Regions from separate parts of the Homo sapiens genome. Here region 1 is linked to region 2. Evidence: promoter capture Hi-C in 16 types of primary human blood cells and fetal thymus (Javierre and others, 2016). All regions are on one chromosome and are shown on one strand. Each heading gives the region's core, a stretch centred on a gene start or on the middle of the fragment in contact. The rest is flanking DNA. Distances are from core to core; before and after follow the strand shown. Region 1 holds the start of TXNL4B (thioredoxin like 4B). Region 2 holds the start of VAC14 (VAC14 component of PIKFYVE complex).

What was found. Contacts are between HindIII fragments. The CHiCAGO score rates a contact against its expected background, and 5 or more counts as called.
Region 1: a contact is called between a fragment that was not itself captured here and the fragment with the promoter of VAC14 in region 2, in 5 of 17 cell types (naive CD8 T cells, total CD4 T cells, total B cells and 2 more). The highest score is 7.5, in naive CD8 T cells.

The regions. Positions count from the first base shown.
Region 1 is chr16:72,090,851-72,097,740 of GRCh38, forward strand. It overlaps TXNL4B (thioredoxin like 4B), which reads right to left and starts at 2,770. Exons shown (of 4, transcript NM_017853.3): 1 at 2,517-2,770. It overlaps DHX38 (DEAH-box helicase 38), which reads left to right and starts at 2,997. Exons shown (of 27, transcript NM_014003.4): 1 at 2,997-3,201; 2 at 5,289-5,630; 3 at 5,972-6,159; 4 at 6,827-6,890. The coding sequence starts at 5,308. RefSeq lists enhancers at 2,543-2,872, 2,883-2,932, 2,993-3,292. The HindIII fragment of the contact is 817 bases long and covers 1,152-1,968 here.
Region 2 is chr16:70,797,892-70,803,997 of GRCh38, forward strand. VAC14 (VAC14 component of PIKFYVE complex) reads right to left here and starts at 3,267. Exons shown (of 19, transcript NM_018052.5): 1 at 2,906-3,267. The coding sequence starts at 3,009. It overlaps HYDIN (HYDIN axonemal central pair apparatus protein), which reads right to left. Exons shown (of 86, transcript NM_001270974.2): 86 at 4,193-6,106. RefSeq lists enhancers at 2,953-3,575, 3,243-3,302 and a silencer at 2,973-3,162. The HindIII fragment of the contact is 5,317 bases long and covers 1-4,117 here.

The DNA.
Region 1 (6,890 bases), core at 310-2,809, 1.3 Mb after region 2:
ATTAATTCACAGAGTAGCTAATGTATTCACATGGTATGAAAGAAACATCATAGAAAGGTAACACTGTGGAGTTTCCCTCTCTTTGTCCCTGCTCCTTGGAACCAGTTTTCATTGTTCCCTCCCCCGGGCCAGATAACTGCTTTCATTAGTTTCTCATGTATCTTTCAGAGTTTTGTTATGCATTCACCAAAAAATACAAATATGCGTTCCGATATTTTTTTTCTCTCTCTCCCCACCCCCAAAAGATAGCCTATTGTATCAGTGTTCCAGCAGGAAAGCGATGACACTCTCAACTTTGGTAATTTGAAGGCAGTTTAATTAAGGCAGGTGTAGAAAAACAATACGGTAAAGTGTACTACTTTGGGGCTAGTAACAGCGGGATGCTGTACCCATCCCTAGGCCATGGGAGGAAGAAGCCACGGTAGGAAGCAGTTATAAGAATTGTGTGGCAGAAAGAGGTGAGTGGAGAGGACAGTGTATAGGAGGGCAGCCTGCTGTTAGGTGTTGCAGCCACTCTCCTCCCTCCCTCTGACCTTTGCTCATGCAACCACCGGCTGACTCCAACTGGAACCAGAGGGCAGGGGCCTGTTGAGGCAGGCAAACCTCCCTGTCCCAGAGCAGTCTAGAGGAGGATGAAGAATGGCTGTGGAGGGACCAATGGCAGATGTTCAGCACACACACTTTATCTACTCTTCAGCACTTTTCATTATTTCAAACCTAACCTATGAAGATTGCCCCATATCTCTATATAGAGAACATCCATATTCTCTGTCATGGCAGCATATTATTTCTTGCATGTGTTACACTTTTTAAACAGTCCTTTATTGTATACTTTATATTATTACAAGTCCTGGCTTAAAGATTCTTCGTGTGCACCTTACTAGGTGCACCTCATTACACGGCAAACAGATCAATTAAGAGTGTGTGTGAAAACTACAATACCATAAACAAATAATAAAATACTGAGGTACAAGGGACCTAATACAACCCCGTCATTTTACAAACTAGCTTGCTTACAGTTGCACTTTCTACTACAATGACAAGGACTAGAATACAGGCCACCAAATTTCTAGTCCAGGGGTCCTTCTACTACAATAATCTATTTTCATGATTGGTAGAAATTTCATTTTTGAGAAACTCTTTGACAAAGAAGCTTAGTTTTGTGGTCATCTATAAGAGACTCCATTGAGATGGTCGGTATTTTGAATTCAGTTCCAAATATGAAAAGGGAGGATTTCTTTTCCTATTTTTTTTGTCACAAGTCACATTTTAAGATACGAATTAGGCCAGGCTCACCCCTGTAATCCCAGCACTTTGGGAGGCCAAGGAGGGTGGATCACCTATGGCCAGGAATTCGAGACCAGCCTGGCCAACATGGTGAAACCCCGTCTCTACTAAAAATACAAAAAATTAGCCGGGCGTGGTGGCAGATGCCACCTGTAATCCAAGCTACTCAGGAGGCTGAGGCAGGAGAATTGCTTGAACCCTGGAGGCGGAGGTTGCAGTGAGCTAGGATCGCTCCACTGCACTCCAGCCTGGGCAAGGCAACAAGAGCGAAGCTCCGTCTCCAAAAAAAAAAAAAGGAATTATTTAACTAAAATTCACATAGGAAATAAGATTGTTCCAGCTATAGGTCATACTTTAAACAGGGACATTGATGGCCCAAAGGGACGTCATCAGATGTGAGCAGCAGAACAAATTACCAATGAAAGGGAAGGTCAAAGAGAAGACGGATCTGTCCCACTAGAATTCAAACAAACAGCAGTTCCTCCGTGTTACTGATCGAAAGGAGAAAGTAAGGGGAGAACAAAGTTGTTAGTGGTGAGGCTAGGGGTGCAACTGGACAAACGTTGGAAGCAGGAGAGGAAAACTGAGACCACATCTAAGAAAATGTCCATAGTAAATGATACCCACAGAGAATTCCCAAAAGAAGACGTACAAATGGACAGTAAATAAACTAAAAAGTTAAGCTTTACCAGTAAGCAAAGAAAAGCAAATTAAAACATATGTTTACAAAGTCACTGAATTGGCAAAAATTAAACAAGATAGTGGTAGGGGCAGGCACAGGGAGTTCCTGCTGGAATGCAGACACAAAACCTTTCTGGAAAGAAAACTGACATACTCTTTGACCAATAACTCCACTGCTTTCCTCTCTCCCTCTCTTTTTCTGAGGCGGGGTTTCGCTATGTTGCCCAGGCTGGTCTCAACTCCCCAGGCTCAAGCAATCCTCCCGCCTCAGCCTCCCGAGTAGCTGGAACCTCAGGCGCGCGCCACAACTGCAGAAACACCAAAAAAAGAAAAAAAGCTTGAACTCACTTTTGTACAGAATCTTACTACAATGTATTCCAGAAAAACAACTGGAAATCAGTGGTCATCTCTGCGTGTGAACGCATGGGTGATTTTTATTTACAGCCGGGCGCGCATCTCCATTTTCCAAAATATCCGATATACATATTTAAAGTCACCTGTGTTGCGCTGCTCCTGGCCCACAAGCGCTAAGGGACCCCAGCACTTACCTTACTCGTCCACGCCGCCTCACTCCCTTTCACTTTGTGGCTGTCAGCAACCACTTCTCGGAAGAGCCCGGGCGCGGACAGCTCCTTTCATCAGCCCCAAGCCGGACAGGACCCTAAGACCAAGTCACCCAGGGGCTGTTGCCTAGCAACCCTCGTGGCCCCGCTAGCGGGAAGGAAACCGAACAGAAAACGCACAAGCGCAGAAAAGAAACTCCTGGCCGTCGGTCGGCCCCCGCTCAACAGCCCAATAAACGGAAGAGCTTCTAGTCACCGCCCACCTTGCTCGGCTCTGACCGGAAGCTAGGCGTCACCTCCGCCCGTATTAAAGATGGTCGACCTTTTTCCCCTCCTTTTCCTGCCCCCAGACTAGAGGCGGGATGTAGTCTCTTAGGCTAAGAGTGATTGGTCACAAGGAGACTCGGAAGTGTCTGATCAGAGCCCCAGAGGAGGCCTTGAGAGCCTGTTGGCGTACCGTTCCACACTTGGATCCAGGAATCGGGCGTGTTCCAGGCTGCTCTCTATGGTAGCTTTGGGCGGATAGAGGGGGCGCGCAAAGTATTAAGGGACAATAATGGCCGCTTTCAAGGTGTGGATTTTGGCTCCTTGAGCCTGTCTGAGCGAGGGGTGGCAGCGCCGGCGCCCCAGAATCCGGGACAGAAGGGTCCCAAGAGTCGCGCTTGGTGAGGTGAGAGTCCCTTCTTCCTTCCTGGCCTGCCCTTCTGTAATCATGGCGGCTCTAGGCGGCGGATATTGGTCCCCTGCTCAGGTCCGGGCCCCAGTTTGGGGAGTTCCTCTGTCGTCCCTGTCACCCACCTTGCCTTACTCACCTCAGGGATGCTGCATCCGTCCTGGCCGCCTTGGCCTTCCTCCTTGCTCTGGTCAAATCCTGCTGCCTGGAGCGGCCTCGCTGAGATCCAGGGATGCTGCCTGGAGTGGCCTTGGTCCCTCTCCCAGGCCTCCGCTTTAACCCACCCCAGACTGTCACCGAGCCCGAGTAGGACTCCTTGTGTCTTCCTCTGCTCTCTCACAGTGTCATTTATACCAGGCAATCTGGTGGGCGATCTCTTCTACTAGAATGTCAGCTCCAGGTGGGCGGGGATTTTTGTCTTGTTCTCTGTTGCTATCGCCGAGAACAGCAATTGGCTCAGGGACACCCTCAGTGAATAATTGTTGAATGAATGAATCCAGGTTCTTTCTTCCCTGGCTTTCTCGTACGCCTTGTAGTTTCTTTGCCATTAATCCTTCTCAAGAATCTTGCTCTTTAGCTCCTTATTTGTTCGTCTCAGCAGCTAATGAAGTTCTCTCTGGCTGTCTCCTTGTCCTGTGTTGCTGGAATCTTCCCTTGCTGTCTCCAGAAATGTTTGGGTTCCTGTCCTCCTTTAATAAGTTTAAATTAATTCATTTTTTAATTTATCAAACGCTTATTTTGCTAGACATTGAGCTACAGCAGTCAACAACACATCCAGTGTTCTCTCAACTGCGTAGAATGGCAGTCCAGGGTACCTTTCCTAGTTTAGACAACTATTGAGTAGAGCCTGTATATCTTTACCTTCTTGTGTGGATTTCCTCACATGCGCACAGATGTCACCAATATGCAGCTTTCTTTTTTTCTGTTCTGCCTGATGGCATTTTCAAAATGTAACTCTTGTTTCTGCATTAATATTATGTGTCCAGTCTGTTTGGCAATACTCTGTAGAGCTGTGCATTTAATTAGAGTTTGGTAAACAATTCTGGATTCTGGTGGCATCTCCTTTGCTTTGCTAACTTGTTGGAATGAGAGGAATTATCCAAGCATCCAGAACTGATATATGTTGATGAGTGGCAGATGTGTAGTGAGAGGTAAAGAGGAGCTTGTTCCAACTTGAGTGCCAGAAGTCTTGTAGCCACTTAAATACTTCTCAGTAACACCTTTTCCTAACCTGGTGTTTCTCATAAATATTTTTGGTGAACATGGATTGTTATTAAACTGATTTTGGCTGCTGTGAGTAAATTGTTTTCTGTAAAACGCAGCTAGGCCAAGAAAAGCCACTAAAGTATGGAGAACATGGACGGTAGCCTTCTGCCCCATCTCTGTGCTGCTGTACCTGTTGTTTAAAGAGAGGAAGAGGTAGAACTCATGTAAAAAAATGGGTGAGGGACCAACAGTATATAGGAGGATAGCAAATAATACAATGTAGCAGTTACATTTATGTTAACTGTTATGGTTACATAAAGAGCTACTCTTTATGGTTTCACATACACTTTTTGTTTGATTCTCACAATAGCTTCATGGATTAGATAAGGTAAAAATTTTTTCCATTTAATAGATATGAAATTATGGCTAAACAAAGATTAAGTTATTTGCTTACCATCATACAGGTAGAAAGTGTCAAGAGCCTGGTTTCTAATTGAGGTTTCTGATTCAAATTTAGTGGTGTTTTCCCTACATCCCTGTTACAGCTGCTGACATCAGGCTCTAGAAAGTGTCCCTTAGTGAGACTTTTTATTGCCTCTTGGATCTTTGTGGGGGCTGGGGAGGAATGTATGGGGTGTGTGTGTGTGTGTGTGTGTGTGTGTATCTATTTTGGTGTTTATTGGGGGTTGGAATAGGAGAATCTTTGGAGATAGGCAGTGACTTGATGGAAAGGTCTTGGAGAGAGGGAGCAAAAGTAGTCCTGGTCTTAAGGGGAGATGGGGAAGGTTAATCACCTACATATAACCATAACTGCATTTATTGTGGGATATAGTAGAGCTGAGCCTTCTCTAGTACCAAATGGTTTGCCTTCCTTCCAGAGAAATCCCAGATCCTGTGATGGGGGACACCAGTGAGGATGCCTCGATCCATCGATTGGAAGGCACTGATCTGGACTGTCAGGTTGGTGGTCTTATTTGCAAGTCCAAAAGTGCGGCCAGCGAGCAGCATGTCTTCAAGGCTCCTGCTCCCCGCCCTTCATTACTCGGACTGGACTTGCTGGCTTCCCTGAAACGGAGAGAGCGAGAGGAGAAGGACGATGGGGAGGACAAGAAGAAGTCCAAAGTCTCCTCCTACAAGGACTGGGAAGAGAGCAAGGATGACCAGAAGGATGCTGAGGAAGAGGGCGGTGACCAGGCTGGCCAAAATATCCGGAAAGACAGGTAAAGGCCTTAGTATGGGTTAGCCCAGAGGGAAGCGAACGGAGGCTGGAAAATAACAGCTCATGTTTATCTCTCAGTTTTCCTGTTGGAGATTTAGAGCTTTATGATTTTATTATGATTCTGTAATACTGAAGGTAGGTAGGAATTTGTGGGGAAAAACAAAGGTGAATAAAGACGAGATGGTAGAGGTTAGAAATGCCTTGGGTTGTTGCCATATGTGAGCCTGCGTCCCAGGGAGAGAAAGTGGAAAAGGACAGATCACTTGTTTGGACAGCCAAAGGTTTTAGGGCAGAGTTTTTCTCCTATGGAGGGGCCTTTACCAGTTGCTCTCCCTGTTTCAGACATTATCGGTCTGCTCGGGTAGAGACTCCATCCCATCCGGGTGGTGTGAGCGAAGAGTTTTGGGAACGCAGTCGGCAGAGAGAGCGGGAGCGGCGGGAACATGGTGTCTATGCCTCGTCCAAAGAAGAAAAGGATTGGAAGAAGGAGAAATCGCGGGATCGAGACTATGACCGCAAGAGGGACAGAGGTAAACTGTCCAGCACAGTTCCTATTGTCCATTAGCATTCGAATAAATGTGTCAGCCTTTTTCTTGTTGCAGGAGTTTTTGCAACACCCATTTGTTAGGGAGTCCTATTTGCATGATGTCCGCCTGAGTGGTTTTGACCCTGCTGGGATTGGGAATACTAGTTTAAGAAAAGAGCTGTTGCCTGTAACATAGCTGCTCTCCTTGAGTGTGTGGTCTTCGTTTTATTATGAAAATTGATGATAAAGGAGATAATGGGTAAATATGTATAAGAGACCAGCATTTCTAATAGTATTGGTGATAGAGAAAGGACAGTGCTATGGAACAAAGCTAGACAAAAAAATCCAATGCTGTCCTTGCTCAGTATTAAGTTTTATAGCTGATAGAATTGTAACTATTAAAAAAAATGATTCACTGTAAACTCGCACTAGTATTTTTTGAATTCTTGCTGGAAAATAACTGTTACTGTGGGTTTGAAATTTTCTAGGCAGTAACTATTTTTCCCCCTTGGGAGAATGGGGATAGGTGAGTTTCAGGAGTCCACGGATCACATTCGAGCAGTGCAGGTTGCACCTGTGAGTGAGTGGGCAGCCTGTCCTTTCTCTAGGGTGAAGATGTGTATACCTTAGGATGGGATGCATGTTTTTAAGCTTCGTGTGACTCTTCATAGATGAGCGGGATAGAAGTAGGCACAGCAGCAGATCAGAGCGAGATGGAGGGTCAGAGCGTAGCAG
Region 2 (6,106 bases), core at 2,017-4,516:
GGAAGCATCCTGAGGCCCCGCCAGAAGCAGAAGCCGCTATGCTTTCTGTACAGCTTGCAGAACCGTGAGCCAAATAAATCTCTTTTCTTTATAAATTACCCAGTCTCAGGTATTTGTTTATAGCAGAGCAAGAACAGACTAACACAGCACTTTACAACATTAGCTCAAACAACTCTATGCATATTATTATTATGCTCTTTTTACAGATGAAGAAATTGAGGCACAGAGGTTAATTAGCTTGCTCAGGGTCACCTAGCCAGTAAATGGGAGCTTGAACCCCAGTTCCAGAGCCTGCTCTTAAACACCATGCCACGCAGCCTCTCAGGAAATAGGGTATCTTAAAGGGGCAACTTACCTAAGAACAGGACTAAGCACTTTCATTTAGGGAGCACATGAACTGACTCATTTACACTACATAGATAACTGCCAATATTCGGACTCTTCTTTTGTTGGGCATCTGCAGTCTGATTAATGAGAGATTAATTAATAGTCTGTGTTTGCTGAGGGTCACTTTGACCAGGCCAAATGAAGAATATATTAAAACATACAATATCCTATGTGTACCTGACACATAGAAAGTGCTCAGACAAGCAAAATGCTGGTGCTGGTGAAGCACAGATAAGTAAGTCAGTATCTATCTCTAAGCAATTTGTGAAGCATATGTTCTGAGGAAGGCATTGAACTAACCAGCCATTCTTCATTCTAAGCATGACTGGAGAAGGTTGGAAACAGATGAGAGGGTCTTTGAGGCCAGTGCTTCTCAAACTTTAATGTGCACACAAATCACCCAGGGATCTTGTTAAAATGCAGATTCTGATTCCATAGGTCTGGAGCAAAGCTGCAGAGCCTCTAACAAGCTCCCAGGTGATCCTGATGCTGCTGTCTGTAGGCCACGCTTTTGGGCAGCAAGGTCCTGAGCCTGCAATGTTATTTCCCCACCGAAAATGTACGGTCATTCATTTATTCGGACACCAGCTGTCAAGTGCTGCCAGGCTAAGTGCTAAGGATAAATAAAACAGATACATAAACAGAACTCTCTGCTCTTAAGGAGTTCACAGTCAAGGCACTGCTGAGTTTCTCTAAATTCCACAAATCAAGGGCAATGTCCAATACAAAATGAACTCGATCAAAGACAAAACCCTTACAGAACTGTGTGCAGAGTGAGAACAGATACACAGGTTGCGCTGGAAGCAACAATAATGTTGAGATGAATACCTCTCTCTTCAAGGACTCAACAGACGACTCAAGCTACAATAAAACCGGATATTCCTGAGAAGCAGAGTGGGTGAGGGACAAAACTAGGTGTCAAGGCAACTTCAAAGCCAACAAAACCCCATGGACACGGAACCATGCCTATATATCATTTCTGGGTCCCTCTATTCAGTATGGCAATGTGCAATAAGACTTGCTAGCATTCGTGAGAGTCAGGCATAAACAAAAAGCTATATAAAAGGAGCAGTCAAGAAAGTGGTGTCTGATGAGAGAAGCAGCTAGATGGTTGTGGACATACTGAGTATGAGAGCTGAATGGAGGCAGGGTGGGGGATTTCTTATCAAGGTCCGAACCCTTTAGTTTAGGAGGAAACTAAAATCCAAAGCAACATTTGATTTGGATTGCAAGCAGCAGTTGTCAACCGGGGCAATTTTGCTCCTTCAGGGGACATTTAGCAATGTCTGAAGACATTTTTGATTGTTACAACGGATGGAGTGCTACTGGCATCCAGTGGGAAGAGGTCAGAGACGCTGTTAAAAATCCTGCAAGGCACAGGACAGCCCACTACAACCAAAAATCATCTGCCCCAAAATGTGAATGGTGCAGAGGCTGAGAAACCCTGAGTTAAGGAATTTGCCCCAGGTTAACGAATGAATGTCACACCACGGAATAGATTAGAGCAGTCCAATAGAGCATTCTGCAATGATGGAAACAGTCTATAATCTGTGCTGCCCTATATAGCAGCCAATAGCTACATGTGGCTATTGAACACTTGAAATACGGGTAGTGTGACTGAGAAACTAAAGTTTAATCTTTAATAATTTAAATTTATAATAGCTACGCACGGCCAACGGCTACTCTACTGGACAGAACAGAAATACAATTCACCTTTTCTGACTCGCAGACTGGTATTCTTCCAGTTTCACAGCCTGCTTCTTTCCAATTTTCTGAAATCACTCACTCACTTGACTTTAACACTAAAATGTGACTGGGAAAAAACCCACAAAAGTAAAATAATACTGCAGAAAAAAAAATAAATAAAACATCCCCAGTTAAACTTTCGCTGTTTTGTACATTGGGAAATAAAGTAAAATATCAGATCATTGTTACACATACATGTAACAAGACTGCAGAAGCAAGAAAGGTCAAATTATTTCTACTTCCACTTGCAGGGAAGGGTGTTATAACACAGATAAAACAAAAAACTCTCTGAGCCTTGAGATCACGAGTTTTCCGACCTGATTTCTCTACTTGGTCACTAACAATCTCCTTCACTTCTCAGAAGCTGGGTAAGAAACCAGGCTGGTCAGCATCACCTGCAAATTCTCCGGCTTCTGACTTCTCTCTCACCACAGAGACAACTCTCTGATTTGCTGGTTTGGGTGGCACCGCACCGAAGACTCACCATGTGCCATGCACTGTGCAAAGCACTACCCATACATGATGTCACTTCATTCTCACTGCAGCCCTTTGTGGCACCGGGAGGTTAAAAAGCTGGGACCAAATCACACAGCCAGTCAGGAGTAAAGCAGGGACTCCCAGATATGGCTCCCAATCTGCTCTTAAACACTGCGCTAAGGTAAGGGCCTAAAACCTGGGAAAGTAACCCTGGCTGGGAAGGCGTGAGAAGTCCCCCTGGGGAGCAGAGCAGTCAGGGGCTGCATAGCCAGGGAGGGGTCCTGGCGGCTCTTACTTCTCGATCTCCAGCGCTGCCACCTTCCGCTTTTCGTACAGCTTGTCATTGAGGGCGCGCACGATGTTAGGCGTGAGCGGCGCGAAATCCTTCTCGGGGTTCATGGTGGCAGCTGGGGGAACCTCGCGACTCCTTAGCCCGCGGCTGCCGGGGCCGCGCCGGGGCCAGGGGAGTCTGCGGCTCCGCTCTGCCCCCGGCGCCGGCGCATGGACCACGCCGCTCTAGGCTTGCCTGCCACGCTCCGCCGCCTCGCCCTGGAACCCGGGCCCGGACCCCGCTCCAGCACACCTGACCCTGGCCGCTTAACAACTCCCGCCCGGCACTAGCGGGACTCACGAGACAGCGGCCATGTTACTCGAGTCACATGACTCTACAGCACTTCCGCCTTCCGTCGCGAGGGCCCGCCCCTCTCCAGCCACGCCCCCACCGCAGGCCGCAGGTGGATTGGCCACGCCCTCGGAAGGCTCCACCCACACTGCACACACTATCGCGCTGCGCGCCAGGTAGCTGGAGTGTGGTTTGAGACGTGCTTTAATGGGTGTGTAGCTCACGCCCAACTGATGGCACGTGGTGGGCTTCTGTAGACGTTCGTAAGACCGAATGGGTTCTTGGAGTCTGATTCACTTAACATAATTTATTCAATAGTCACCGAATTCACTAGTTCATTCAGTAGTTGGTCACTTACCAATTTCCTAGATGCAGACGTTTCCCTAACTGCAGTAACACTGTCATCACTTTCACCATATTCTAGCCACTTGTATTATCTATTTAATGTTTTCCTCAAATCAACTCACTTTAAAAAATACCTTAAATCTCTTTTAGCTTTGCTTATGCCCTAAAACCATGAGTTTGAATAGGTATATTTTTTCTAAGACACATCAAAATAAATTCTCAATTAAAAATGGCACTACCTGTCTACCACCTAAGATCTCAGGTACCACCAGTGTCTGTCACTCCACCATTTGGGGGTGTGTTTAACATGCTCTGATGCCTAGGAGGGCTGGTTACAGACAGAGAGAAAGGCCCCAGATCTGCTGAGTGCGGGTCTCTAGATAGGTCCCCTGGAAAGCAGCCCCTTCAGCTGCTTCGGGAATCACATTACATGGTGAGACAGAAATCCCAACTATGTGGCAAAATATTTAAAAGCAATTTATGGCCGGAGTGTGGTAAACATGCAGTTAACAGGGAGGTGCATCAGCCTTTCCTATCATAAGCTTTCAGAGTGAACAGGGACTTAGGACAAGGGCTAGATTACAGTGGAGCTCAAAGAATAACAGTTTCAGAATGCATGGTGATACTTTTCTTTAATGAATGAAAAGTGCATATATAGGCCTTATAACAGTCTTGAAAATGGAGTATTTTCCTCAACAGAAACAGGGACGCAATGAGTAAAGGGCAAAAGTAGGCAGAATTCTAGGATGACCTCCAATATTCCCACCCCTTCGTGTTCATGCCCTGTATTATGCCCTCTTTCAGCGTGAACAAGACTTGTAAATATGATGGGCTATGCATCACTCACATGATTATATTATGTAATATCGCAGAAGAGATTTTGCAGATGTAATTAAGGTCCCTAATCAGCAGACATTGAATTAATAAAAAGAGAGATTAACTTGAGTCGGCCTGACCGAATCAAGTGAGTACTTAAAAGAGATTAGAAGAAATTTGAACTGGAAGAGAGACTCTCCTGTAAGGAGTTTAGTCATATGGCCACAAAGGAATGAATTTTGCCAACACATTGAGGGTCCTTGGAAGCAGATCTTTCCCTAGTTGAGCCTCCTGATGAGGATGCAGCTGGCCAGCACCTTGATTTCAGCCTTGTGGAACCCTGAGCTGAGAATCCAGTTCACACTGGGCTCTCAACCCATGGAAACTGTGAGATAATAAATTTGTGTTGTTTTGCTCTCCTAGTTTTGTGGTAATTTGTTATGCAGCCATAGAAAATGAATACAAAGGCTAATCCAAAACTCGGCAAGTCATGGATATATCATGTCTAGAAAAATCCATAAAAAATGTATTCTCCTATACAGGTGGGGTTTTCATAGTTGTTAAAACCTTTGCTGACACAATCCTATGAATGAAGGTAGGTGCGCTAACAAGTAGTAGTAGTGCTGCCAAGGACATCTCCAAATGTCTTGCAAAGTTTGGTTTTAGGATTTTGATGATGGTTGATGAAAAACACTGAAAAAATGTAAATCAATGGGAATGATTTGGTTCTATTTCTCCAATGTGTGTGCATTTCCACGGGACGCATATCTAATATATTTCATGTTTCTTTTGCTTTTTGGTTTGGCTTTTTCTTAGAGGTGAACTGAATTTCCCAAGGGTAATGATACAGTTTTTAATAATTCAAACAATAAGGAATTTTTTTTTTACCAGAAGTATTCTTTTCTCCTGAAATTATATTCTGGCTCAGGTTGCTAAGTAACCAGTTTTTTATTCAAGGCCCAGACCAATGCCTACCTTTAGGTCAGAAGTTCCTAGAAAGAAGTGGTTCTTTTCTCTAATATCTTGAAAAATGCCAACTAGGTAAGATTATTTATGCATAATTGAGCTAGCAGTGGTGGTAAAAATAAAGCCCAAAGGCTACCCTTGCCTTCCACCCTTGTTCCTCTTCTCTGACCTGTGACCATTCCTGTTGAAACTCTTCTAGACTAGGGGATAACTGATGTGCCTGACTGCATACTAGTCATTATTTCACAGTTACAATTCATCTGCATCTGTGTGATGCTTGGTTGTTATGCTAGAACTTGTAATAGTTCTGTAACAACTATTCATAATAGCTATTACAAGTATGTAAAAGTTATGACATAACTTGTAGCAAGAGGCTGCTGATGACATTGTAAGAAATTGTACCAAAATCTTGAACTGTGCAAAGCAGTTTCTCCAACAGCAATGTAATTGTAGCTGGAGTTTCAGGGCAACAGGGTTTAAGGTATTAGGTAGAGGTCTTGAAATGTAGCAGGCCCTCACCAATGTTACAGTATTGTCACCTCTGACTTGAGGCTCCTAAAGAAGTGGTTAGACTTAGCATGCCACACTCACTGGGGGCCCAGTGTGGAACGAGGCCAGGGAGCCCCATTCCCATGGTATTCTGTGCACAGTGCTCCTTGGAGTTCTGCCACACAGCTACCCTGACATTTTCTGAACATCCCCCAGTTAGAAGTCTCCTGGTCTGCTTTGCTGAGAATGGATTCTCCA